Regions from separate parts of the Homo sapiens genome. Here regions 1, 2 and 4 are each linked to region 3. Evidence: promoter capture Hi-C in human tissues and cell types (Jung and others, 2019). All regions are on one chromosome and are shown on one strand. Each heading gives the region's core, a stretch centred on a gene start or on the middle of the fragment in contact. The rest is flanking DNA. Distances are from core to core; before and after follow the strand shown. Region 1 overlaps ZBED6 (zinc finger BED-type containing 6). Region 2 has its middle 28 kb from the start of SNRPE. Region 3 holds the start of GOLT1A (golgi transport 1A). Region 4 overlaps ZBED6 (zinc finger BED-type containing 6).

Region 1 (6,985 bases), core at 2,726-5,225, 370 kb before region 3:
TCAAATCTTTATTTTTATTTTTAAAAGTTTGTGTATTATTTTGGCTTCTTAACCACTTCTTTTTATTTATTTTGGTTTATCTTAAATATTGTTGTTTTTCCATAGTTGTAAGTACCTGGCTTGGGTTTCCTTTCATTTTAAAGACCCTTTCCCCAAGTTGTCCTCTCTCCTGACTGGGAGACTCCATTTATGTCTGGCTAAGTGGAGAGGGTGTACTAACAGGCAGCTTGTATGGACTGAAGATGGGAGGTCTGGGGGCTCATACAATTGCCACAGTAAGACTTTATTTTCTGAGTGGAAACAACTTCTTTCCTTTTTCAGATTTGCTGTTTACTTTTATCCCTCCTCCCTCCCCTTTTTCTGCTTGGTATTGTGAAAGCTTGGGATTTTCATGCTCTACTTCTCTCCAGCCCCAACATCTTCATAATGTGCTCTTCGTGGGCAAACTTGCCTCTTTTTAGGGAGCAGTTCTCAGGAGGAGGTCATGACTGGCCCAACTGTTCTATAGGCAGTCCTTAAATTTCTACCCTAATGGTTATGTCAGATCCCACCGTTGCTTTTAATATTAGTTAACCCAAGTTTGACAGTTTCCTTTGACTGTATTGGGAGGAACAGAACTCACGCCTATGGTTTTAACTATTATTTTTCCATTTTTCTGTAAATTCAGACATCTGCTTTCTGTTTTAGAAATTCTTCAAGATGTATGCTCTGCCAGTGACATCCTTATTTCTCATTGCTGGTGTGGATTTATTTTATTTTTAATGTTTTATCATTTCAATGAAATTTTGGTAGGGGAGGGAAACAGGGCCTCTATGTCACCATTCATGTTGTACTTTCTTGGAGTGGTAATTTTGAAATGTTTGCCACCTTGGATTGAAAGAATTTGTGATTTTTTATTAAAGAACTTGAAGAACTAATTCAGTAAGTGAGTGCTTCCTTTGCAATATTACAGGTACCTAAATACAGTCGTTGTTCTCATGAAGTCTTTAGTGTGGTTGAAGATGCAATTACAGTGTACTGAGTGTTCAGTGCTTTGATCAGAAAAACTAAATTGGAGGGTATCAGGTTTTAAGCTGAATTCAGTTGAAACTAACCAGGCCTGGCGTGGTGGCTCACGCCTGTAATCCCAGCACTTTGGGAGGCCAGGCAGGTAAATCTCTTGAGACCAGGAGTTTTGAGACCAGCCTGGCCAACATGGCAAAACCCTGTCTCTACAAAAAATACAAAAATTAGCCAGGCGTGGTCGTGGGCACCTGTAGGCCCAGCTACTTGGGAGGCTGAGGCAGAGAATCACTTGAACCCAGGAGATGTAGGTTGCGGTGAGTCAAGATGACACCACTGCACACTCCAGCCTGGGCAACAGAGCAAAACTCTGTCTCAAAAAACAAGCAAACAAAAAACACAGGTAGCAAGAGAAATGAGAACAGCACGGAATACTCCAAGTAGAGGGAATAGTATACTCAGGAGTTTGGAAAGTGAGACAGAACACAGTATATTTTAAGATTTCAGACTGGGTATGGTGGCTCACACCTGTAATCCCAGCACTTTGATTGGCTGAGGCAGAAGGATCACTTGAAGCCAGGAGTTTGGAGACCAGCCTGGGCCACATAACAAGACCTCGTCTTTACCAAAAAAAAAAAAAAAAAAAAGATTTTGAAAAGATATAATTTTTTTGGGGGGGGGGTTCATTAAAAGCTGTTATTCAGTGATTACATATATATGTGTATGATCTCCAAATTATCATTTATTTCATAGCACTATCTCTTTTCATTATTTATTTTCTTAGCCCTTCAGTAATGAGAATGGTTCTATCTGTGAAGTGTGACATTTGGTCTTCAGTTTAGACAGATATAGAACGATTAATGTATCATTGAAAATAGCTCTTCAGTGGCATGCCAATTTCTGGGCCTTCTGCATTTTTCTTCTATCTTGTCACCTGTTTTACCTTCTTTTTATCCTTTAAATTTAATATCATTTCCTTGTAGACAAGTGTAGGTGTTCCTGCTGTGTCCTTTTATAGCATTATACCTACCTTATCAAAGCAGTTATCATTACCATACTCTGCTATAGCTAGTTTAATTATTGATCTGTTAGACTGTAAATTACATGTGGACAGAGATTTTATTTTGCTTACCATTGTATTTCTAGCCCAGTGTTCATTACATGTTTATAGCCATAAGTTAATGAAGAATTTATTGCTATTTTTGTTAAGATTTATAATGACAAATTTATCCAACTAGTAAATGGCTTTCAGTTTCTGAAGAATAAGCTTCTGAATAGAAATACAAATCAATTTTTGCCTCCAAAGAGTTTTCCTTGAGGACCACTGCCTGGAACTTGCAGTAATCTAAAATTGAAATAGAAACAATTAGCCGGGCTTGGTGGTGGGTACCTGTAGTCCCAGCTACTTGGGAGGCTGAGGCAGGAGAATCACTTGAACCCTGGGAGGCAGAGGTTGCAGTGAGCTGAGATTATACCACTGCACTCCAGCCTGGGTAACAGAGTGAGACTCTGTCTTAAAAAAAAAAAGAAAAAGAAAAAAAGGAAAAGAAATAAATGTTACCCTTTTGATCCTTTTAATTGCCTGCTTAAATGATAGCTCTCTGTTGGACTGTCTTGATCCAAGAATAGAGAGATCATAAGTCAGTAAGAGATGAACTTCAAGTATAATGACATGTTTTTCTCCTGTGAAAACAGATAAAGTTAATAAAGTTGGTGAGATCCATGTGAAGACATTAGAAGAAATTCTTCTTGAAAGAGCCAGTCAGAAACGTGGAGAATTGCAAACTAAACTCAAGACAGAAGGACCTTCAAAAACTGATGATTCTACTTCAGGAGCAAGAAGCTCCTCCACTATCCGTATCAAAACCTTCTCTGAGGTCCTGGCTGAAAAAAAACATCGGCAGCAGGAAGCAGAGAGACAAAAAAGCAAAAAGGATACAACTTGCATCAAGCTAAAGATTGATAGTGAAATTAAAAAAACAGTAGTTTTGCCACCCATTGTTGCCAGCAGAGGACAATCAGAGGAGCCTGCAGGTAAAACAAAGTCTATGCAGGAGGTGCACATCAAGACGCTGGAAGAAATTAAACTGGAGAAGGCACTGAGGGTGCAGCAGAGCTCTGAGAGCAGCACCAGCTCCCCGTCTCAACACGAGGCCACTCCAGGGGCAAGGCGGCTGCTGCGAATCACCAAAAGAACAGGTAACAAGAGAACTTGGTCTCTAGTACCACGTCCCCACATAATATTCCAGAGGAGTGTTCCGTGGGATCTTCCTAGGAGTTGTTTGACAACCTTTCTTTACTCAGATAACGTTGAAAACACTGAATTAAATGAAGTTTTTCAGTAGTGCTATGTAGACCTATGCTATTTTGTTTTATTTTATTTTTGAGACAGAGTCTCACTCTGTCACCCAGGCTGCAGTGCAGTGGCATGACCTTGGCTCACTGTAGCCTCCACCTCCTAGGTTCAAGTGATTCTCCTGCCTCAGCCTCCCAAGTAGCTGGGGCTACAGACATGTGCCACCACACCCCGCTAATTTTTGTATTTTTAATAGAGATGGGGTTTCAGCATGTTGGCCAGGCTGGTCTCAAACTCCTCACCTCAAGTGTGATCTGCTTGCTTCAGTCTCCCAAAGTGCTGGGGTTACAGGTGTGAGCCACCATGCCCGGCCAACCTTTGCTATTTTAATGTGTATTTTGAGACTTTAGGAGCACAGATGGGCTTTATCTGTAATTTTATTTGTCCTGTCTTACTACTTTCATTAAATAAAGTTTTGTTTAACATATCTATCATGAAGTTGCAGCTTAAATAAAATAACTAATGATGTCTTTAATGTGAATACAGGGATGAAAGAAGAGAAGAACCTTCAGGAAGGAAATGAAGTTGATTCTCAGAGCAGTATTAGAACAGAAGCTAAAGAGGTAAATTTAAGATTATTGTATGGTTTTGTTCATGGCAAACAAAGGCTAGATAATTGGTAGTTTTACCTTACAATAAATTTCTAAGTACTTCATTCATATATTAGGTAAACAGTCTTTCTTTTTACTTATAATTTCTTATGAGAATTTCCTGTAGTTCTATGTATATCAGTATTCGCTGCCCTTTTAAAGTTTTTTGTTTGCCGGGCGCGGTGGCTCACGCCTGTAATCCCAGCACTTTGGGAGGCTGAGGCGGGCGGATCACGAGGTCAGGAGATTGAGACCGTCCTGGCTAACACGGTGAAACCCCGTCTCTACTAAAAATACAAAAAATAAAGTTTTTTGTTTAATTGGCCATTACTTTTTTTTAACTGAGTTTTTTCTAATGCTATGCATCATACAAAAGTTGGAAATTTTATTTTTTTTAAAACTGAACAAACCCTAAAAATATACAGCTCAGATGTAACCATCATTATCTTTTCCATGGATTTCTTCGAGCTTTTTCAGTCTTGCTCTGTTGCCCAGGCTGGAGTGCAGTGGCATGATCTCGGTTCACTGCAACCTTTGCCTCCTGGGTTCAAGCGATTCTTGTGCCTCAGCCTCCCATGTAGCTGGGATCAAAGGCATGCACCACCAAGCCTGACTAATTTTTGTATTTTTAGTAGAGACAGAGTTTCTCCATGTTGTCCAGAGTGGTCTCGAACTTCTGGCTTCAAGTGATCTGCCTGCCTTGGCCTCCCAACGTGTTGGGATTACATGTGTGAGCCACCACACTTGGCCTTCTTCGACCTTTTTGTTTATATATGCATGCATGTGAATTTGTTTAATGTTAAACCCATGTTTAGAACATAATGGAGAACTCTACAGTGTATCATTTTACAGCCTGCTTTAACTTTACCATGTTAATAATTCTTCAAGAAGTTTGTTTTTACTGACCACATGATTCTCCATTATACAAATACAGTCTTTTTCTGGACATTCAGATTTTGTTTTACACAATTTAAAGTAATATATTTGTACATAAATCTTTGTGCAGGTATTTGATTATTTAGGAATCATTAGTATTTGACTTAGAGTCATGGTTGTCTAGCCTGTGGAATCTGGGTTTTTTATTATTCCATACATCTGTAATTCTAATCTTTCATCTTTAACAGGGTATTGTCTATTTAACATCAAATAAAGAGCTTTTCTCTCAGATTCTGGATCATGTGAGATTCTGCTTAACTTAGATGTTAGCCTGGTACTTACATCATACAGGTTATTAGAGGTACCAGATTTTAATTCTGTCATTCAAATTTATCCACAGGCTTCAGGTGAGACCACAGGAGTTGACATCACTAAAATTCAAGTCAAGAGATGTGAGACCATGAGAGAGAAGCACATGCAGAAACAGCAGGAGAGGGAAAAATCAGTCTTGACACCTCTTCGGGGAGATGTAGCCTCTTGCAATACCCAAGTGGCAGAGAAACCAGTGCTCACTGCTGTGCCAGGAATCACACGGCACCTGACCAAGCGGCTTCCCACAAAGTCATCCCAGAAGGTGGAGGTAGAAACCTCAGGGATTGGAGACTCATTATTGAATGTGAAATGTGCAGCACAGACCTTGGAAAAAAGGGGTAAAGGCAAGTATTTCTATACTGTGTATTGCTTTAGGTTATCAAAATTACCAAATTCAACCCAATTGTTGCCAGTAACTTCCTGGCAACAATTGGGTTGAATTTCATTTGCCTTCTATCCACAGGTAGATAGTAATATTTCTGATATTTTTATACAGAGGCAAAACGAGATGAATTCTTTTCTCAGAATTTAAAATTGCTATTTAAAAAGCTTTGTGTAAAACTTTCTATGGTGCATCTTTCCTCTGGTATTGAATAAAAACAAGGAATAGAGGAATGGTAACAAATTTAAGTGGTATTGTATCTACATGGTGACCACCTGTAGTGACCACCATGTGACCACAAATTGCCTTTGAATCGTTTTCAGTCTCTTTTTAAATGAATTATTTGTGGTATTTCTAGTACTGAAGGAGTTTTGATATTTTATTCTGAATTATTCCCCATTTAAAAGAGTCTATTCTCACTGCTTATCAGATATTTTCTGCCCTTTGTAGCTAAACCCAAAGTGAACGTGAAGCCATCTGTGGTTAAAGTTGTGTCATCCCCCAAATTGGCCCCAAAACGTAAGGCAGTGGAGATGCACGCTGCTGTCATTGCCGCTGTGAAGCCACTCAGCTCCAGCAGTGTCCTACAGGAACCCCCAGCCAAAAAGGCAGCTGTGGTAAGAAGTATATTCACTTTGTGGTGCTTTATTCTGTGTGGTAGGAAAGCAGGAAAGACTAACTCTCCACTAGCATTCTATCTTGAGTATATCACTTCCTGGCATTTCCTAGCATTTTAGTAATTTGGGTTACTACTGTATTTTATACTTACAGTTTGATATTTGTGAAGTAGCAGGACAGGATTTTTTAAAAGCTAATTTTTAGGTGGCAAGATATTTTGCTTATTTATATACTCAACCTTTAGATTATCGATTCTTAGATTCACAGGCTTAAAGAATCATAGCCACAATTCTAAGAAGGCAGCAAAAGAAAATGAATATGCTCAAATTAAAAAGCCTGACTCTCACTGAATTACCTGACTCTTCCTTTTGTAGGCTGTTGTCCCGCTTGTCTCTGAGGACAAATCAGTCACTGTGCCTGAAGCAGAAAATCCTAGAGACAGGTAATACTTTGTAATTCTTTCTAAACAAACTCCAGGCCCCTGTTACTGTTTAGGCTCTCTAGAGAATAACACTGATAAATAACTTTAGCAACATTCAAATAAATCTGTTGCACTTCAAATTAATTGCAAGAAAGTATGAAAATCTAGGGTTGCTGTTCTTCTTTGGTGCCATTGTTTACATTTTGCTATATTACCTAAAAGATGTTTTTTTGTTTTTTTGTTTGAGGCAGCGTCTCACTGTGTCACCCAGACTGGAGTGCAGTGGCACAATCTCTGCTCACTGCAACCTCCACTTCCCGGGTTCAAGCAATTCTCCTGCCTCAGCTTCCCAAGTAGCTGGGATTACA
Region 2 (6,460 bases), core at 1,870-4,369, 320 kb before region 3:
ACCCTATAAGAATACTCTGTATTCCAAACAGATACTCCAACTCCCTCCCCCTAAGTTTACCAATCTCCATGGTTTGTTTTTATGGCTTTAAATATGAATTCAATTACTTTAATAGATCTAGGACTATCCAGGTTATCTACTTCCATTTGAGTGAACTTTGAGAGTTGTGTTTTTATTCTATTGCTCCTTGCAGAGCAGAGGTACCCCATAGGCAGTGTGCCCAGAATAGCCCAGGGGAGCTGGAGTTGTGTTTTTTAAGGGATTTGTCCATTTCATCTAAGCTATTAAATTTATTGGCACAAAGTAGTTCACAATATTCCCTTATCCTTTTAATGCCTGTAGGATCTGTAGAGGTATCTTTACTTTCATTCTTCATCTATTCTGTTCTTTATTATTTCTATGTATCTCTTTATTTGGGTTTAATCTGATCTTTTTCTAGTTTCTTAAGGCAGAAGCTTTGGTTACTGATTGAAAACATGCCTTATTTTTTAAAAAAATTTTTATTATTTTTTTGAGATGGAATTTCGCTGTGTTGCCTAGGCTGAAGGGCAGTGGAGTGATCTCAGCTCACTGCAACCTCCCCTTCCCAGGTTCAAGTGATTCTCCTGCCTCAGCCTCCCAAGTAGGTGGGATTACAGGCGTGTACCACCAGAGCATGGAGCAGACATCGCATAAAAAATTTGGTTCCTCAAATTCAAGGTTTTTCTGCTCATAACACAACCCATTGCACGTGAGTATCATTTGGCCATCCTTGCATTGCCTTTGAGAATTAGGATTTGGGGAACTTGTAAGAAAATGCTGATATATTGGATATTGTCCTTGATAAGAGTAGTAAACTGTCCTCTGACTCACATTTCACATGTTTTCTACTAGCACCCATGAAACCATGCGGGGAGGGGGGCTTGCTTAGCCTGCAAGTAGGGTAAAACTAAGGATACTTAATGGTTCTTTACATCACCTTACTTGTTTTTTGTTTGTCCCATCCCCATCTCTTTTTTTCCTCAAAATTTTTGTTTTCCTTTGGATGATTTTTATGATTTCATTTTATATCTACTGTTAAACTTATTAGCTATACTCCATTTTTTAAAAGACTTTTACTTGATTACCTAGGGATTACAGTATACATCTTTCTTACTACAGTTTACTTTCAGTAGCTTTTTTTGTTTTGTTTTGTTTTTGTTTTTGTTTTTGAGATGGAGTTTTGCTTTTGTCGCCCAGGCTGGAGTGCAGTGGCACGATCCAACTCACTGCAACTTCTGCCTCCTGGGTTCAAACGATTCTCCTGCCTCAGCCTCTGGAGTAGCTGGGATTACAGGTGTCCACCACCATGCCCAGCTAATTTTTGTATTTTTGGTAGAGATGGGGTTTCACCATGTTGGCTAGGCTGGTCTTGAACTGCTGACCCCAGATGATACACCCACCTTGGCCTCCCAAAGTGTTGGGATTACAGGCATGAGCCACCGTGCCCAGTCTGCTTTCAGTAGTATTTTAACACTCCATGTATGCTATGAGACTCTTATACCTCCAATTCCTCCCTTCATTGTGCGTTTTTGTTGTTGTTGTTGTTGTTTGTTTAAGAGACAGGATCTTGCTCTGTCTCCTAGGCTGGAGTGCAATGGCACAATCATAGCTCAGTGCAGCCTTGAACTCCTGACTCAAGTGATCCTCCTGCCTTGGCCTCCCCTATAGCTAGGACTACAGGGATGCACCACCATGCCTAGCTAATTGTTTTGTTTTTTGGGTTTTTTTTTTTTTTTGCGTGTGTAGAGATAGGGTCTGTGTTTTCCAGGTTGGTCTCAATCTCCTGGGCTCAAGTGATCCTCCTGCCTCAGCCTCCCAAAGTATTGAGATTACAGGCATGAGCCACTGTGCCCAGCCCTCTTTGTACTCTTTTCGTCATACTTTTAGTTCTCAGTCCCATAATACATTGTTACTATCTTTGCTTTAGGCAGTTATTGAGATTCACATCATGTGCCTGAATATTGGGTTGGGAAGTCCCATATTTTCTCTTATGAATTTTAAAAATTTTATCAAAATTTTGGACTAGAAATAATTTTTTGGGTCATTCTTTTTGAAAAGGTGTATGGTTTTTTGCTAAGTGGATCTTTTCTTGGCTTCTAGTTGAGACCTTTCCACACATAACTTTCCCACCCACTCTTGAGGAAACCTGAAGCCTGATTCCATTTATGTATAGGATCCTTCTGAAGTCTTGGCTGGAGTTCAGTTTCAGGGAATTAGCAGCAGGAAAGGCTGGAGGGAAGGTCAGTGAGGGCATTTCATTTTCTTCTCTTATTGTTAATTTCCTTGAGACACCTAAAGAAAAGAAAAAGTACTTTCTACTCCAATCTTTCTACCTTGTTTTAACTCTAGGGTGTTTCTTTTTTTCCCCATTCCATTGTTAAGACAGGAATCAGGGTTTTTTACAATGTATCACCCATAATCATGCTTTCTACAATAGTCATTTCCTGTTGCCCTCTAAGCTTTGTTCATGGTATTCCATTGAGTTGACAAATCATAATTTATAATACATTTCTTTGTGAAGCTCAGCTTTTTCATTATTACAAATTATGCCACAGTAAACATCTTTGTGCATCTTTTATACCTCATGAAGTGTATTTCTATGAGCAGGTATCTATATTTTATAACAGCATTTTTATAGTTATTACGTATTATAAATAAGATTTAGAAAAAGAAGGACATTGGGAATGTATATACCCTGGGGGAAAAGGTCTTATGACTTTGCCTAGAGAAAAATAAATAGATTGAATTGATTATAGACTTGTTGGAGACAGGTTATTGAGAGGGAAATGTCAAAAATTTGGCTATGAATTTCAACTATGCTTTTTTCAGAGATTAGTATTTGAGGTTTAAATACCTCTTAACTGTTTTTTAAAATCAGTATGTTGAGTCCATTCCTGAGTTGAAATTTTGACATACTTCTTCCTGTTGTGAAATCTGCTTACAAAGATTTAGGCAATGTTTTAATATATATGTATGTGTGTGTGCTAGTGTGTTGTGTAGGAATAAAGCAAAATCACCACGGAAATGAGGTATTCTGTAACTCTTCATAAAGGACCTATGCCTATGCTGTTTAATATAGTTGTCACTAACCATAAGTGGCTATTGAGCACTTAAAATGTGCTAAGGCTAAGGAACGTACTTTTTGGTTTAGAAAACCTTTAAGTATGTTTGGAACAACTTGTGTACGACAGTCTACTTTTTAAACTAGACATTTGGCCAGGCACGGTGACTCACGGCTGTAACCCAGCACTTTGGGAGGCCGAGGGGGGTGGATCACCTGAAGTCAGGAGTTCCACATCAGCCTGGCCAACGTGGTAAAACCCCGTCTCTACTAAAAATACGAAATTAGCCAGGCGTTGTGGTTTATGCCTGTAATCCCAGCTACTCGGGAGGCTGAGGCAGCAGAATTGCTGCTCAGAATGAGCTGAGATCACACCATTGCACTCCAGCCTGGGCAACAAGAACAAAACTCCATGTCAACAAATATATCTATTTATATATGTTATATTATATTATATTATATTAGTATTATATTACATAATATATATTTATATATTATATGTATTTCTATTATATATTTATATGTTATATTATATATATATATATATATATATATTTTTTTTTTTTTTTTTTTTTTTTCCTGAGATGGAGTCTGGCTCTATCACCCAGGCTGGAGTGCAGTGGCATGATCTCGGCTTACTGCAACCTCCGCCTCTCGGGTTCAAGCGATTGTCCTGCCTCAGCCTCCCCAGTAGCTGGGATTACAGGCATGCGCCACCACACCCAGCTAATTTTGTATTTTTAGTAGAGACGGGGTTTCTCCACGTTGGTCAGGCTGGTCTCGAACTCCCGACCTCAAGTGATCTACCTGCCTCAGCCTCCCAAAGTGCTGGGATTACAGGCATGAGCCACCGCACCCAGCCAATAATAATTTTTATGTTTGTAACATTGAAATAGTTATATTTTAGATATAATGGATTACGTAAAACAAAATTAATTCCACCAATTACTTTTTTTTGATATTGCTTCTTTTTTGAGACAGGGTCTGGCTCTGTCAACCAGGCTGGAGTGCAGTGGCTTGATTTCAGCTCACTGGAACTTCTGCCTCCCAGGCTCAAGCCATCCTCCCACCTCAGCCTCCTGAGTAGCTGGGACTACAGGTGCATGCCACCATACCTGGCTAATTTTTGTATTTTTTTGTAGAAGTGGAGTCTCACTTTGTTGTCTAGTCTTGTCTCAAACTGCTGATTTCAAGTGATCTGCTGCTCACCTCGGCCTTCCAAAGTGCTGGGATTATAGGAGTAAGCCACCGAGCCTGGCCAATGTGGATATTAGGGAATTTAGAATTACATATGTGGCTTGTATTTCTGTTGGACGACACTGGCCTACATTGTAGGTGACATGAGTGAAGAAAACCACTGTTTTCACAGCTTCAAAATGTTGTGACTGGGCACAGTAGCTCTCGTGCCTGTAATCCTGGCACTTTGGGAAGCCAAAGTGGGAAGATCACTAAAGCTCAGGAGTTTGAGACCAGCCTGGGCAACATGGCAAAACTTTGTCTCTACAAAAAATACAAAAATTAGCCAGGCATGGTGGCACCGCCTGTAGTCCCAGCTACTAGGGAGACTGAGGCAGGAGGATTGCTTGAACCTGGGAGGTTGAGGACGCAGTGAGTTGTGATTGCATCACTGCACTTCACCCTGGGTGACAAAGTGAAACCCTGTCTCAAAAAAACAATAAATAAATAAAACATTGCAAACACAGACAACTCACTGTCTAAAGGAAGATCTGAGTTACTGAGACTAGAGTTTTCAATGTTTAGGTTGTAGAAAGGAGAACAAGGAATGCCAATGCAGGTCGACTGGTTATAGGTAAAGGGTGGGCATTGTCAGGGTTTACTGCTTAAAAGTAACTAGTGTCCCATTTAAAGTATGGGCTGACTACACAGTTATTACTGCATGACCCTGCTTTTTGTCTTCAGTGTGTAATACAAGAAGTAGTGAAACCCCATCTCTACTAAAAATACAAAATTAGCCCAGCTTGGTGGCACGTGCCTGTAATCCCAGCTACTTGGGAGGCTGAGGCAGGAGAGTCGCTTGAACCCAGGAGGTGGAGGTTGTGGTGAGCCGACATCACGCCATTGCACTCCAGCCTGGGCAACAAGAGCGAAACTCCGTCTGGAAAAAAAGAAAAAAAAAGTAAACATGAGGCTAGACATGGTGCCACATGCCTATAATCCCAGCACTTTGGAAGGCTGAGGTGGGTGGATGGAGCCCAGGAGTTCAAGACCAGCCTGGGCAATATGGCAAAAGCCTGTCTCTACAAAAAATACAAAAATTAGCCAGATGTGGTGGTGCATGCCTGTATTCCCAGCTACTCGGGAAGCTGAGGTGGGAGGATCACTTCAGCCTGGAAGGTCAAGGCTGCTGTGAGCCAAGATTGTACCACTGCACTCCTGCGTGGGGGACAGAGTGAGATCCTGTCTCAAAAAAAAAAAAAAAAACTTAAAAAGACAAAAAGGTAAACATGATGGTTGAGGAACAAGAAAAGGACAAAATTGATGAGCAAAGTGATTAAATACTAAAATGAAAGGAACAGAAGGGTAGAATTAACAGAAAGCCAACTCAAGAAAATTCAAAAGAAAAAGAAAAAACAAGAATTCTAAGTGTCGGATCCATGAGCCCTTCATACCAGATACAGGAGCCAATGAACCTACCTGAAATTACATTTAAAATAACAAGGAATGTTCATTTATGAGGGGAATGTGGTCAGTAGCTTTCATTAAATTCATAGAGGAGTTCATGTCTTTCCTCCACAACAGGCTTGTAATCATAGCTGCAACAAATAAAACAGTAGGCTTCTAGTCAAAATGGAGTAAGAGGGATCAGATTTAACAGAAACAAGTAAAAATCTGGGGCTGGGTGCAGTGGCTCGTGCCTGTAATCCCAGCACTTTGGGAGGCTAAGGCGGGTGGATCACCTGAAGTCAGGAGTTCAAGACCGGCCTGACCAACATGGAGAAACCCCGTCTCTACTAAAAATACAAAATTAGCTGGGCAAGGTGGCGCATGCCTGTAATCCCAGCTACTCAGGAGGCTGAGGCAAGAGAATCACTTGAACCCGGGAGGCGGAGGTTGTGGTGAGCCGAGATCGCACCATTGCACTCCAGTCTAGGTGACAAGAGTGAAGCTCCGTCTCAAAAAAAAAAAAAATTGAATAAGAAATATGAAACAATTAAATTTCAGACAGTAGGACACCAGGCATTCCAGGACGGTGGTTGTTCTCTCAGGTAACCATATGAAGTGAGCCTTACAATTCATCAAACTTAACATCTAAGGAGATTTTCTCAAGCCTCAGTACAGTGGGTAGGAACCTGGGTGGAACACAGGGGAGTCTCCCTGAGTTGAGATGGGATTGGGAATCTACAGCAACCCAAGGAA
Region 3 (6,236 bases), core at 3,463-5,962:
TAATGTTTCTTTATTCTTAAGGCAGTATCTGCCAGGCCCCTCACCACCCCATCCCTGACCCTGCAGGGGATGCTTTGCCTATGATACTTTGTACCAGGCCACCCCTAGTGTGAACACCCTTCTCACCCTGCTGGGGTTCTAACACCCCACTCTGGGCACCGCCTTCTCTGTGTTAAACCTAATGGCTTTAAGACTGAATTGTTCAGGAAGAGGAAGGAGGGAAATAAGGAGAGAAAGAGCCTCATTCACTTTTTAAAATTAGCAATAGTGATTGATAGTGTAATGAACATACTGGGCCAGGCACAGTCTAAGCACATATATGCTTTAAGTATATTAACACATTTAATTTTCATAACTACCTGTGACATAGGTACTACTATTAGCACCATTTCACAAACAAAACTGAAACACAGAGGTTAAGTCACTTGCCTGGGGATACACAGCAGCTGGCAGAAGCAGGATTTGAACTTAGTCTTGAGCTCCAAACAGTGCCTTTTGGGCAGGCACGGTGGTTTACACCTATAATCCCAACACTTTGGGACGCCGAGGTGGGTGGATCATCACCTGAGGTCAGGAGTTCGAGACCAGCCTGGCCAACATGATGAAACCCCGTCTCTACTAAAAATACAAAAAATTAGCCGGTGAGGTGGCGGGCACTTGTAATCCCAGCTACTTGGGAGGCTGAGGCAGGAGAATCGCTTGAACCCGGGAGGCAGAGGTTGCAGTGAGCCAAGATCATGCCATTGCACTCTAGCCTGGGCAACAAGAGTGAAACTCCATCTCAAAAACCAAAAACAAAACAAAACAAAAAATAAAAAGTGCCTTTAACCAACCCAGTCCAGTCCACTTCTGCAGGCAATGCTCTTGCCTTGGCCATTAATGACCTTCATGTTACCAGATCCAATGGGCAGGTGTGAACCATCATCTGTTAGAACTGACCACTGCCGTGTTGAAACAGCCTTTCTCTTGGTTTGTGCACAACACGTTCTTGATTTTCTTCCTACTGCTCTAACTGCCCTTTCTCTGTCTCCTCTGCCAGCTCCTACTTCTCTCTCTTCTTCTTGGGATTTGAATTGCACAGGGCTTGTGCCCAAGCTCACTTCTCTTCTCATTCTATTTCCACATGTATTCCCATGTGTTTATTTTTGTTTTTAATTTTGTCTTAAAGCTGGGATCTCGCTCTGTTGCCTAGGCTGGAGTGCAATGGCACAATCATAGCTCACTGCAGCCTTGAACTCCTGGGCTCAAGGGATCCTTCTACCTCAGTCTCCTGAGTAGCTGGGACTACAGGCACTTGGCCACCATGCCCAGCTAATTTTTTAAAATTGGTTTAAATTTTTTTGTTGTTGAGACAGGGGTTTTGCAATGTGCTCAGGCTGGTCTTGAACTCCTGGCCTCAAGCGATCCTCCCAAAGTGCTGAGATTACAGGCATGAGCCACCACACCCAGCCTCTCACGTCTTCAAACCTCCCTTGTATGCTGATGACACTGATGTCTCTCTTTCTAGTCCATGCCTCTCTTTGGGCTTTGAAACTCATATCTAGCTGCTTACTTGGCATATCTGCCTGGTTTTCTCTCAGCCATCTTGAACTGGGCTAATCTTCAATCCCAAACTGGTCTATTTATCTTCCCTCCTTCAACTTGTGCCTCCCTTGGTTGTCCTCAAATGAGTAAACATGTCACCACCGCCCACCCCACCACTTAACGCAGAAGCCCACCCCTCCCCCATGAAATCCACAGCTAAGTTTTCTTTTCTTCTTCCAAGATACATGTTGAAAGCTGTCCATTTCTCTCCATTCTTAACACCTAATTCCCGGCCACGATCATCTCTTTCCTGGACGTATGCAGCAGCCCCCATTTGGCCTCCTGCTTTATTCCTGCACCCTCCCAGTCCTTCTCCACACGGCGCTCAAAGGTCTTGCAAAACATACAACCTGATCATGTTAGCATACTGCCTAGACTCCTTCACGGCTGCCCACTGAGATTAGACTGCAGCAGAGCCTTCTCATCCACACCACAGCTCACAGGCCCTGCCTGGTGGGGCCCAGGCCTGCCTGCCCACCTCATCTCCTGCCACTGTCCCTATTGCCTGCCATGCTCCAACCACACTGTTCTCCATGGCTTCCATGTGAGCCCTCTTGACTCAGGGCCTTCGTACATGCAGTTTCCTGGTCTGCAACACCCTGCCTCTCACTTGTTACTTGACAATGCATCCTCATCATTCAGGTCTCAGCTGAAATGTCAGTTGCTCAGGGAAAGCTGGTCCACTCTCTTCCCTGACCTAAATCCCTCATTTCTCTCTCTCACAGGACTTGCTTATCATATTTGGTAAGAGTATATTACTTGCAGGCTAATTGGTTTAACAAAGTGTCAGCGTGCCACTGGGTTGAGGACCCAACCCACCTCTCTCTATATTTTTATTCGCCAGGTCCATGATTCTCAACTGGGCTGAGGGGATTGTGGGTGGGGAAGCGGGGTGCGGGATGGAAATTTGTTTCCCAGGGGACATCTGGCAATGTTTGAAGACATTTTTTATTGTCACAACTTGGAGTGGGGGTGCTACTGGCATGTAGTGGATAGAGGCCAGGGATGCTGCTGATATCCTATAATGTACAGGACAGGCCCCCACAACAAAGAATTATCCTGCCCCAAAATGTCAATAGTGGGGAGGTGAGAAACTGTGCCTGCCCTCGGTGATCTCATGGATGCTCATAGTCCTAAAAACCATGTATATGCAGATTATTCCCACATTTCTGTCTCCAGCCCAGGCCTCTACCTGGAACTCCAGACTCACATACCCAACCACCTACCTGACATCTCACCCGGATGTCTAACAGCACAAACAGACTCAACACATCTAAAGCCCAATTCCTGCTTCCCCCCACTCAACCCTTCCCATTGCACAGGCTAAAAAATATACAAGGCATTCTTGACTCCTCTTTCTCTCACACCCTATGTCCAAACCGTCAGCAAATCCTCAACGCTTTCCTCAAGGCAGATCCAGCATGGACCACGCCCCGCTAATCTCCTGCTAACACCTTGGTCTCCACCTTCACACACTCAGGACTGGCTTCCCTGGCTGGGCGCGGTGGCTCACGCCTGTAATCCCAGCACTTTGGGAGGCTCAGGCAGGTGGATCACTTGAGAAGTCAGGAGTTCGAGACCAACCTGGTAAACGTGGAGAAACCCCATCTCTACTAAAAATACAAAAATTAGCCAGGTGTGGTGGTGGGTGCCCGTAACCCCAGCTACTTAGGAGGCTGAGGCAGGAGAATCGCTTGAACCCAGGAGGTGGAGGTTGCAGTGAGCAGAGATCATGCCACTGTACTCCAACCTGAGCGACAGAGTGAGACTCTGTCTCAAAAAAAAAAAAAAAAAAAAAGAACTGGCTTCCCTGCTGCTGCCTTCATACCTCCACAGTCTATTCTCAACCCAGCACCCAGAATGATCTTTTAAACATAGAAATAGAACATATCACACCATAGCACAAAACCAAGGTCATTACCATGGTCTATAAGTCTCCAGTGTCCTGACCCCTCAGTGACATCCCTGACCTAAACTCCTATGATTCTCCCCTCACCTCACTTTGCTCCAGGTATACCCACCTCCTTGTTGTTCTTCAAACACACCAAGTATGCTAATGCCTCAGGGCCTTTGCACTGCCTGTCCCTGCTTCCTGAACATTTCCCCTCCAGAGAGCTGCGTGGCTTTGCTTCCTCACTTCCTATAGATCTCTGAAAAAAGATCTGAATAAAGGCTCACCTTCTCAGTGAGGCTTCCCTGACCACTCTATATAAAATAGCGACCCCTCCTACCTCGAACTCCATAGCCTCCTCTTGTTTTATTTTCATCTGGAGGACTTATCATCTTCTGATATACTATATACTTCTTTCTGTTAATTACCTGTCTCCCCTCTCTAGAATGTAAGCAGGGAGTCAGTTTCATTTAATGTTGGACACTCTATATCCAACACAGTGCTTGGCACACAGCAGAGACAAATCTGTTGAGTGAACAAAAGAATGTTGTCACCAATTCTCAGATGAAAAACCAAGGCTCAGAGGCTTTAAGTAACTCACCCAAATGAAGCCCACAGAGCCACGGTTCTTCCCATGGCCCCAGACTTGTTCCAAGACCTCCTCCCTACCTCTTCCCCCAAAAGAAGGGGAAGGATGTTTAGGAGTGAGGGTATGGTGGTTTGGTCAGGGGAGTGGAGTTTAGTTTTTTATAAGAAGCCCCCAGGGCCACAGGAGACCTTGATGGTGTGGGGAAAGATGTCTGAATGGGCAGAGGCCTCCTGAGTCCACCTTTGTGGCAACCCAGTTCTAAGAACCCGGGATGGGAAAGGGGTCAGTGTGAATGGGGAACCTGCCAGGCCCCCTGGGCACCAGCCTCTAGCTACCTGTGGGCCCTGAGCAACTCCCACCCGCTGGAGGGTAGGGAGCCACACCCCACCCTGCCTGCTGCCCCAGGGTGCCAGCACAGCATCTCCCAGCCCCTGGCTCCAGAGGTCACGCTTGTAGTGACAGAGAGCCCAGCTGGGAGAGAGAGCCAGCCGGCAGGGAGCCTGGCCTGGATAGCCCATTGCAGCCCCGCTCATCCCACTTACTCTGCCATTCGGTGATGGAGATCATGCCGCACTCAGCCTGGGGGGCTTTCCGGGTGGAAGCGGGCAAGTGGAGCGTGGCCCAGAGGACGCAGCTGGTACATGGTCACGGGAAGCTGACCCTTGGTTAAGTTGCGAAATGAGCCTGTGGCAAATCATTAACTCTCCCTCCAGCCCCCGCTCCACCCCCGCACACCACGCAGGTGCTTCTACTCGCCAGCTCCCTCCTCCCGTTTTCCGGTAGGGCAATGCCCCGCCCCTCCACCTGCCGCGCCTGCCCGGGGAAGGCACCGCCCACCTGACCCTTTCCTCGCACCTCGCGGTGTTCTGCGGCTCTCGTCTGCTCCGCGAAACTTAGATTGTATGTGGAAGCATTGGAATCTAGGGGGTGCTCAAGTTTCTTGCTTGGTTTGATAGTGTGGGAAGAGTTGGCATCTGCGCATCCCTTTGGGAATGTACTAAATTCATCTTGAAAGTCAAGCTTTTTGCTCTCTGCTATTGCACATGCTAGGCGCTGGGAGGCGATGAGCGACTGAGCACAAAGCCTGTTGTTGACCTAATGGCAGAGCCAGATCGGGTTAAATCAATGGCAAAAGCGCCATGGGGGAAGTTAGACGTGAAGGTCTTCGACCTCCTTTCCCCAAGCGGCGTCCAAGCTTTGGACTGACTGTGATGTTGAGCTATGGAAGACAAAGCCCTGAATTTGGGGTTGGGGCAGGACTGCACAATTTAGGAGGCCTGGTTCTAGTCTACCCACCAGCTGTGTAGACATGGATTCGTCCTTTGGGCCTGCAAAAAGAGAGGCAGTTAGTTCCTAACATCCTTTTTTCCCATCGCAGAGCAGTGGTTCTGACGTGGCATTGATGCCAGGAGAGCCAACATCCACTTTGCAATGTCTTCTGTGTCCAGAAATGAAGAAATGAATTTCAAAGACTACCTATATACATCATTTAAAAATGCAAATAGGCCTGGCATACAAAATGCATTATGTCTGTAATCCCAGCATTTTGGGAGGCCAAGGCAGGAGGATTGCTTGAGCCCAGGAGTTTGAGACCAGCCTGAGCAACATAGTGAGACCTTGTCTCTACAATAATAAAAATAAAAAATTAGCCGGATGTGGTGGTACCTGCCTGTAGTCCCAGCTACTGGGGAGGCTAAGGTAGGAGGATTGCTTGAGCCCAGAAGGTCGAGGCTGCGATGAGCTGTGATCAAGCCATGCACTCCAGCCTGGGTAGCAGAGCGAGATCCTGTCTCAAAAAAAAACAAACCAAACAACAACAACAAAACCAAGGAAAGCTAACATAATTTTTTAAAAAGAAACAAAAAGATAAATTATAATAAAACATGATGTCTTTCAATATATAAATGTTCAGGCAAGACTTACCAGAAGACATAAATGAAATAGGCAGATTGCTTGCACCCACACATAATATATGTTTGAATTTAAGAGAAATAGAAGATGAGCCATTCTATGCAAAAACAAAAATCACACACATGCAAGAAAATGAAAGAGTAGCAGGAAGTGAACATAGAATAAAAACTGTTAGATAAGGAATAACAGACCAGACGTACTTGCATATGATGAGAGGGAAAGCATCTTAATTGAAATAGGGATAACATAGCAAGGCAAATT
Region 4 (6,435 bases), core at 3,343-5,842, 400 kb before region 3:
TGGTTTTTTAGAGATAGAGTCTCGCTCTGCCTCCCAGGCTGGAGTGCAGTGATGTGATCATAGCTCACTGCAGTCTCAAACTCCTGGGCTCAAGTGATCCTTCCAGCTCAGCCTCCCAAGTAGCTAGGACCACAGATGTATGGACCATGCCCAGCTAAATTTTTTTTTCTTTTGGGAGAGAGACATGGTCTCACTATGTTGCCCAGGCTTATTTATTTATTTTTTGAGAGAGGGTCTTGCTCTGTTGCGCAGACCAGAGTGCAGTGGGGCAGTCACGGCTCACTGCAGCCTCGACCTCTTGGGCTCAAGCAATCCTTCTGCCTCAGCGTCCCAAGTAGCTGGGAGTAAAGACATGTGCCACCATACCTGGCTAATTTTTTAATTTAGTGTAGAAACTAGGTCTCATTATGTTGCCCAGGCTGGTCTTGAACTCCTGGGTTCAAGCAGTCCTCCTGTCTCGGCCTCTCAAAGTGCTGGCATTACGGATGTGAGCCACCATGCCTGGCCTGTTTTGTTTTTTTTCTACTTTTATTGAGTACTTTTTTGTAAGTTCTTTTTCTTAAGTTAGAATATTTTCTTGAGTATTTTTCAAAAGTATAAGTACATAGGTGATATACTTTTTGAGAATTTTTGTATCTAAAAACTTCTAAGTTCTGAGCTATTTGTGAAATGTAGTTTGAAATTCTAAACTTAAAGGTCATAATCTCCTTTACATTCTGGATGAATAGCATTTTGTCTTTTGGCATTTAGAGATTCAGATGAGAAGTCTAATAATGTCAAGTCTGATTTTCTTTCCTTTGTTGTCAATCTGATTTTTCCTGAAAGTTTGTATGATTTTGTCTTTACCATTGGAATTCAAAAATTTTACCATGTCTGTGTATAGCAGAGATGTCTTTAAAGAAAAGTTCTGCCTGGCATTTGATGATCCCCTTTAATGTAAAGACTCAAGTCCATCAAATTTAAGGAAATGTTCTTATATTGTTTCTTTCATAATCTCTACAAATTCCATTCCTTTTTAGGATTTCTATTTATAGAAATTGAGTTTTCTGGAATTATTTTCATTTCATATACAATTTCCCTCTTAGTGACATATGTTGGCATTTTTGGTTTGGATTCGTGGAGATGTCGTGTCAGTAATCTCTTGTAATTCAGTTATTATGTTTTTCATCAGTGTTTATTCTGTTCTTTCCTCTACTGAAATCTATTTTTGAAGGTAGGGGCTGGAAATTAGAGTCTTCATCTTCGTCGTCGTCATCGCCATCTTCTTCTTTTTTTTCTTCATTATTATCATTATTTTATATATTTATTTTCTTGAGAAGGCGTTTTTCTGTTGTTGCCCAGGATGGAGTGCAATGGCACAATCTTGGCTCACTGCAACCTCCACCTCCCGGGTTCAGGTGATTCTCCTGCCTCAGCCTCCCAAGTAGCTGGGATTACAGGCATTCGCCACCACGCCCAGCTAATTTTGTATTTTTAGTAGAGACAGGATTTCACCATGTTGGTCAAGCTGGTCTCGAACTCCTGACCTCAGGTGATCCACCTGTCTCGGCCTCCCAAAGTGCTAGGATTACAGGCATGAGCCACCACACCCAGCCTGAGTTTTCTTATTATTTTTGAAGCTTTGTTTTCTTCTCACTGTTTTTTTTTTTTTTTTTTTTTGAGATGGAGTCTTGCTTTGTCTCCCAGGCTGGAGTGCAGTGGCATGATCTTGGCTCACTGCAACCTCCGCCTCCAGGGTTCAAGCGATTCTTCTGCCTCAGCCTCCCGAGTAACTGGGACAACAGGCGCACACTACCGTGCCCGGCTAATTTTTTATATTTTTAGTAGAGGCGGTGTTTCACCATATTGGCCAGGCTGGTCTCAAACTCCTGACCTCGTGATCCGCCCATCTCCGAAATCCCAGGTTGCTGGGATTACAGGCCTGAGCCACCGCACCCAGCCCCACTCTTTTTTCATAGTGGTATGTTCATTTGTAGCAATGCTATATCCTTTAAAACTTGCTGAGAGCATGAAGATTTTAAAATAATATGTCCTTTTTCCTACATTAACTTCTAGAGAGTGGGTTGAGAAAGGTCCCATTATTTTTCTTGGCTTCATATTTTCAAACGGTTATTTTCTGTTGAAAAGTAACCAGGTTAACCGGGTGCGGTGGCTCACGGCTGTAATCCTAGCACTTTGTGAGGCTGAGATGGGCAGATCACTTGAGGTCAGGAGTTCGAGACCAATCTGGCCAACATGGTGAAACCCCGTCTCTACTAAAAATACAAAAATTAGCCAGGCATGGTGGCAGGCGCCTGTAATTCCAGCTACTCGGGAGGGTGAGGCAGGAGAATTGCTTGAACCCAGGAGGTGGAGGTTGCAGTAAGTCAAGATCACGCAACTGCACTCCAGGTTTGGGCAACAGAGCGAGACTCTCTCAAAAATAACAAAACTAAACAAAAAAAAGTAACTGGGTTTTTCTTGGCAACCTAGATACTTTTTTTTTCCTTTTAAACTTAAGAAATTTATGGATGTGCATCTTTGTTTTGTGTTTTTGCATGGGATAGTATTGATTATAAAGTCATTGGAGCATCATTTAAAAGCTGGAGTGGTGTTTTTTTTGTTTTTGTTTTTTGTTTTTTTTTTAAGAGATGAGGTCTGTCTGTTGCCCAGGCTGTTCTTGAACTCCTGGTCTCAAGTGATCCTCTTGCCTTGGTCTCTCAAAGTGTTAGGATTATAGGCATGAGCCACTGCACCTGGCCTTGCCGTTTTCTTGAATGGCAATTATATTTGTTTTTATCCTAGTGAAAGTTACAGAAGCTTAGTGTATAAAGATGATATATAAAGAAACTTTTCTTTTTTTCTTTATCTCTTATTTCCTTTTTCTTGTTTTACATTGTAGCTGTTAGGTTTTTTTTTTTTTTGAGACAGAGTCTCACTCTGTCGCCCAGGCTAGAGTGCAGTGGCGCGATCTCAGCTCACTGCAACCTGCACCTCTGGGGTTCACACCATTCTCCTGCCTCAGCCTCCAGAGTAGCTGGGACCACAGGCGCCCACCACCACGCCCAGCTAATTTTTTGTATTTTTAGTAGAGATGGGGTTTCACAGTGTCAGCCAGGATGGTCTCGATCTCCTGACCTCGTGATCCACCCGCCTCGGACTCCCAAAATGCTGGGAATACAGGCGTGAGCCACCGCGCCCGGCCAGCTCTTAGATCTGACGAAGGAGTTTTTTCTGTTGAAACATTAGTAAGGGAGTGTTATCTACTCAGGATTCCATTTCTCCACACTCTGCCCAACTTTGAGGGCTCTTTGCAGAAAATGATTTGAAAATTAGTTGTGGGCCAGACGCTCACGCCTGTAATCCCAGCACTTTGAGAGGTTGAGGCGGGCAGATGACCTGAGGTCAGGAGTTTCACACCAGCCTGGCCACTATGGTGAAACTCCATCTCTACTAAAAATACAAAAAAAAAAAAAAATTAGCAGGGTATGGTGGTAGGCGCCTGTAATCCCAGTTACTTGGGAGGCTGAGGCAAGAGAATCGCTTGAAACCAGAAGGTGGAGGTTGCAATGAGCCGAGATTGCGCCACTGCACTCCAGCAGCCTGGGTAGAAGAGTGAAACTCTGTCACAAAAAAAAAAAAAAAAAAGCCAAGTGTGGTGGTGGGCACCTGTAATTCCAGCTACTTGGGAGGCTGAGGCAGGCGACTCACTTGAACCCAGGAGGTGGAGGTTGCAGTCAGCTGAGGTCGTGCCATTGCACTTCAGCCTGGGCAACAAGAGCAAAACTCGAAACTCCGTCTCCAGATAAATAAATAAATAAAATTAGTTGCCAAAAAATTGTAAATTCTGCTGTGTCTTTGCATTTCATAGCTACCATTTCATTGTTTCAATTACTTTGTTGCTGGTCTTTCTAAAACCGGTAACAGTTTCAAATATGTTCTTTGGAATATTGATTTTGTGAGTGAGATTGACCTCTAAGCCTTTTATTCCCCTTAAAAACTTTTTTTTTCTGGAGGCAGAATCTTGCTCTGTTGCCTAGTCTGGAGTGCAGTGGCAAGATTGTGGCTCACTGCAACCTCTGCCCCCTGGATTCAAGCGATTCTTGTACATTAGCCTCCCGAGTAGCTGAGACTACAGTTGTGGGCTACCACGCCTGGCTAATTTTTTGTATTTTCAGTAGAGATGGGATTTTGCCATGTTGGCCAGGCTGGTCTTGAACTCTTGACCTCAAATGACTTTTTTTATTATTAAACTTTTTCCTTTGTTGCATATATGTCTGAAAAGTATTCAGATAGCTTTGTCTTTTTCTTTTTTTTTTTTTTTAGACAGGTCTCACTGTCACCCAGGCTGGAGTGCAGTAGTGTGATCTTGGTTCACTGCAACCTCCACCTCCTGTGTTCAAGTGATTCTCACACCTCAGCCTCCTGAGTAGCTGGGACTATAGATGTGTGCCACCATGCTTGGCTAATTTTTATATTTTTTGATAGAGACGAGGTTTCACCATGTTGGCCAGGCTGGTCTTGAACTACTGACCTCAAGTGATCCACCCACCTCGGCCTCCCAAAGTGCTGGGATTACATGTATGAGTCACCACACTGGGCCTTAACTTTCATTTTAAATTCAGGGGTACATGTGCAGGATGTGCAGGTTTGTTACACAGGTAAATGTGTGTCGTGGGGGTTTGTTGTACAGATTATTTCATCACCCAGGTATTAAGCCTAGTATCTATTAGTTGTTTTTCCTGATCCTCTCCCTCCTCCCACCTTCTACCTTCTGATAGGCTCCAGTGTTTGTTGTTCCCCTCTATGTGTCCAAGTGTTCTCAGCATTTAGCTCCCACTTATAAGTGAGAACATGCTGTATTTGGTTTCCTGTTTCTGCATTAGTTTGCTAAGGATAATAGCCTCTGGCTCCATTCATGTCCCTGCAAAGGACATGATTTTGTTCCTTTTTATTGGATGCATACTATTCCATGTTTTGTGTTTTTTTCAGACTTCTGTCTTGTTGCTTCCCATCCTCACCAGCATTTAGTGCTTTCAGTATTTTGGATTTTAGCCATTCTAAATTTTTTTTTTTTTTTTTTTTTGAGACGGAGTCTCACTCTGTTGCCCAGGCTGGAGTATAGTGGCATGATCTCGGCTCACTGCAGCCTCTGCCTCCTAGGTTCAAACGATTCTCCTGTTTTTGCCTCCTGAGTAGCTGGGATTACAGGTGTGTGCTACCACGGCCAGCTAATTTTTGTATTTTTAGTAGAGATGGGGTCTCACCATGTTTGCCAAGCTCGTCTTGAACTCCTGACCTCAGATGACCCACCTGCCTCGGCCTCCCAAAGTGCTGGGATTACAAGTGTGAGCCACTGTGCCCAAATGGATTTTAGCCATTAGAAAAGGAATTTGCAATCCCTAATGATGCATGATGTTGGGCAAGATTTCAAATGCTTATTTTCCATCTGTATACCTTCTTTGGTGAGGTACCTGTTCAGATCTTTTGCCTTTTTGAATTGGGGAGTTGTTTTCTTATTTTTGAGTTTCAAGAGTTATATATTTTGTATATCAGACCTTATCAGTTATGTTTTGCAAATATTTTCTCCCAGCCTGTGGCTTTTTCATTCTTTCTTAAGCTTCTTAACAGAGCTTTCACAGAGCAGACCTTTTTAATTTTAATGAACTCCAATTTAATGTTTTTTTGTTTTTTGTTTTTTGTTTTTTTTTGGATGGAGTTTTGCTCTTGTTGCCTAGGCTGGAGTGCAGTGGTGTGATCTCAGCTCACTGCAACCTCCGCCTCCCAGGTTCAAGCAATTCTCTTGCCTCAGCCTCCTCAGTAGCTGGGATCACAGGCATTCACCACCATGCCTGGCTAAATTTTAATGGTTTTTATTGAAAACCAATTTATTGGTTTTCTTTTGTATTTAAGTTGTTATCCATGTTATTTTTTGTGAAAAGTATAAAGTCTGTGTCTAAAATTATTTTTTTATATGTGGATATCCATTTGTTCCAGTAACATATGTTGAAAAGACTATCCTTTTCCCCTTTGTCAAAGGTCATTTGACTATGCTTGTTATCTGTATTAGTTCCTAGGACTTCCATAACAAAGTATCACAAACTGGGTAGCTACAGAAGTTTGTTGTCTCACAATTCTGAAGGTGAGATGTCTAAAATGTTTTCAGCAGGGCCATTCTCCCTCTGAAGCCTGTAGAGGAATGATCCTTACCCATTCTGGCTTCTGGTGTTTGTTGGCAATCCTTGGCATTCCTTGGTTTGTAGATGCATCACTCCAGCCACATGGTCATCTTCTCCTTGTGTGTCTTCTCATCACATTCCCTCTGTACATGTCTGTCTCTTTCATTTTAAGCTGGCAACATTTTTTGCTAAGATGGTTGCCTGAATCTAGTCACACACCTAATCTCCAACAAACTGTTGCCCACCCATACCCTTTTCTCTACAGAGCATACATTCT

What was found. The method cuts DNA at HindIII sites, captures the fragments that hold promoters and counts their contacts. A contact is called where the count stands out against the background at its distance.
Region 1: a contact is called between a fragment that was not itself captured here and the fragment with the promoter of GOLT1A in region 3, in 2 of the 25 tissues and cell types used here (IMR-90 fibroblasts and thymus).
Region 2: a fragment that was not itself captured here is called in contact with the fragment with the promoter of GOLT1A in region 3 in 1 of the 25 tissues and cell types used here (bladder).
Region 4: a contact is called between a fragment that was not itself captured here and the fragment with the promoter of GOLT1A in region 3, in 2 of the 25 tissues and cell types used here (adrenal gland and hippocampus).

The regions. Positions count from the first base shown.
Region 1 is chr1:203,844,487-203,851,471 of GRCh38, forward strand. It overlaps ZBED6 (zinc finger BED-type containing 6), which reads left to right. Exons shown (of 17, transcript NM_001395895.1): 12 at 2,698-3,201; 13 at 3,845-3,921; 14 at 5,225-5,540; 15 at 6,029-6,195; 16 at 6,571-6,638. ZC3H11A (zinc finger CCCH-type containing 11A) reads left to right here. Exons shown (of 18, transcript NM_001376342.1): 13 at 2,698-3,201; 14 at 3,845-3,921; 15 at 5,225-5,540; 16 at 6,029-6,195; 17 at 6,571-6,638. Among named protein-coding and RNA genes, the nearest start is that of SNRPE, 14 kb to the right of the region's middle. The HindIII fragment of the contact is 5,303 bases long and covers 1,325-6,627 here.
Region 2 is chr1:203,886,663-203,893,122 of GRCh38, forward strand. No RefSeq gene overlaps it. Among named protein-coding and RNA genes, the nearest start is that of SNRPE, 28 kb to the left of the region's middle. RefSeq lists an enhancer at 1,623-2,822. The HindIII fragment of the contact is 3,305 bases long and covers 1,468-4,772 here.
Region 3 is chr1:204,209,276-204,215,511 of GRCh38, forward strand. GOLT1A (golgi transport 1A) reads right to left here and starts at 4,713. Exons shown (of 5, transcript NM_198447.2): 1 at 4,607-4,713. The coding sequence starts at 4,631. RefSeq lists an enhancer at 4,584-5,240. The HindIII fragment of the contact is 10,240 bases long and covers 1-6,076 here.
Region 4 is chr1:203,807,535-203,813,969 of GRCh38, forward strand. All of the region lies in intron 1 of ZBED6 (zinc finger BED-type containing 6), which reads left to right. The region is part of intron 2 of ZC3H11A (zinc finger CCCH-type containing 11A); the gene reads left to right. Among named protein-coding and RNA genes, the nearest start is that of ZC3H11A, 15 kb to the left of the region's middle. The HindIII fragment of the contact is 4,767 bases long and covers 2,210-6,435 here.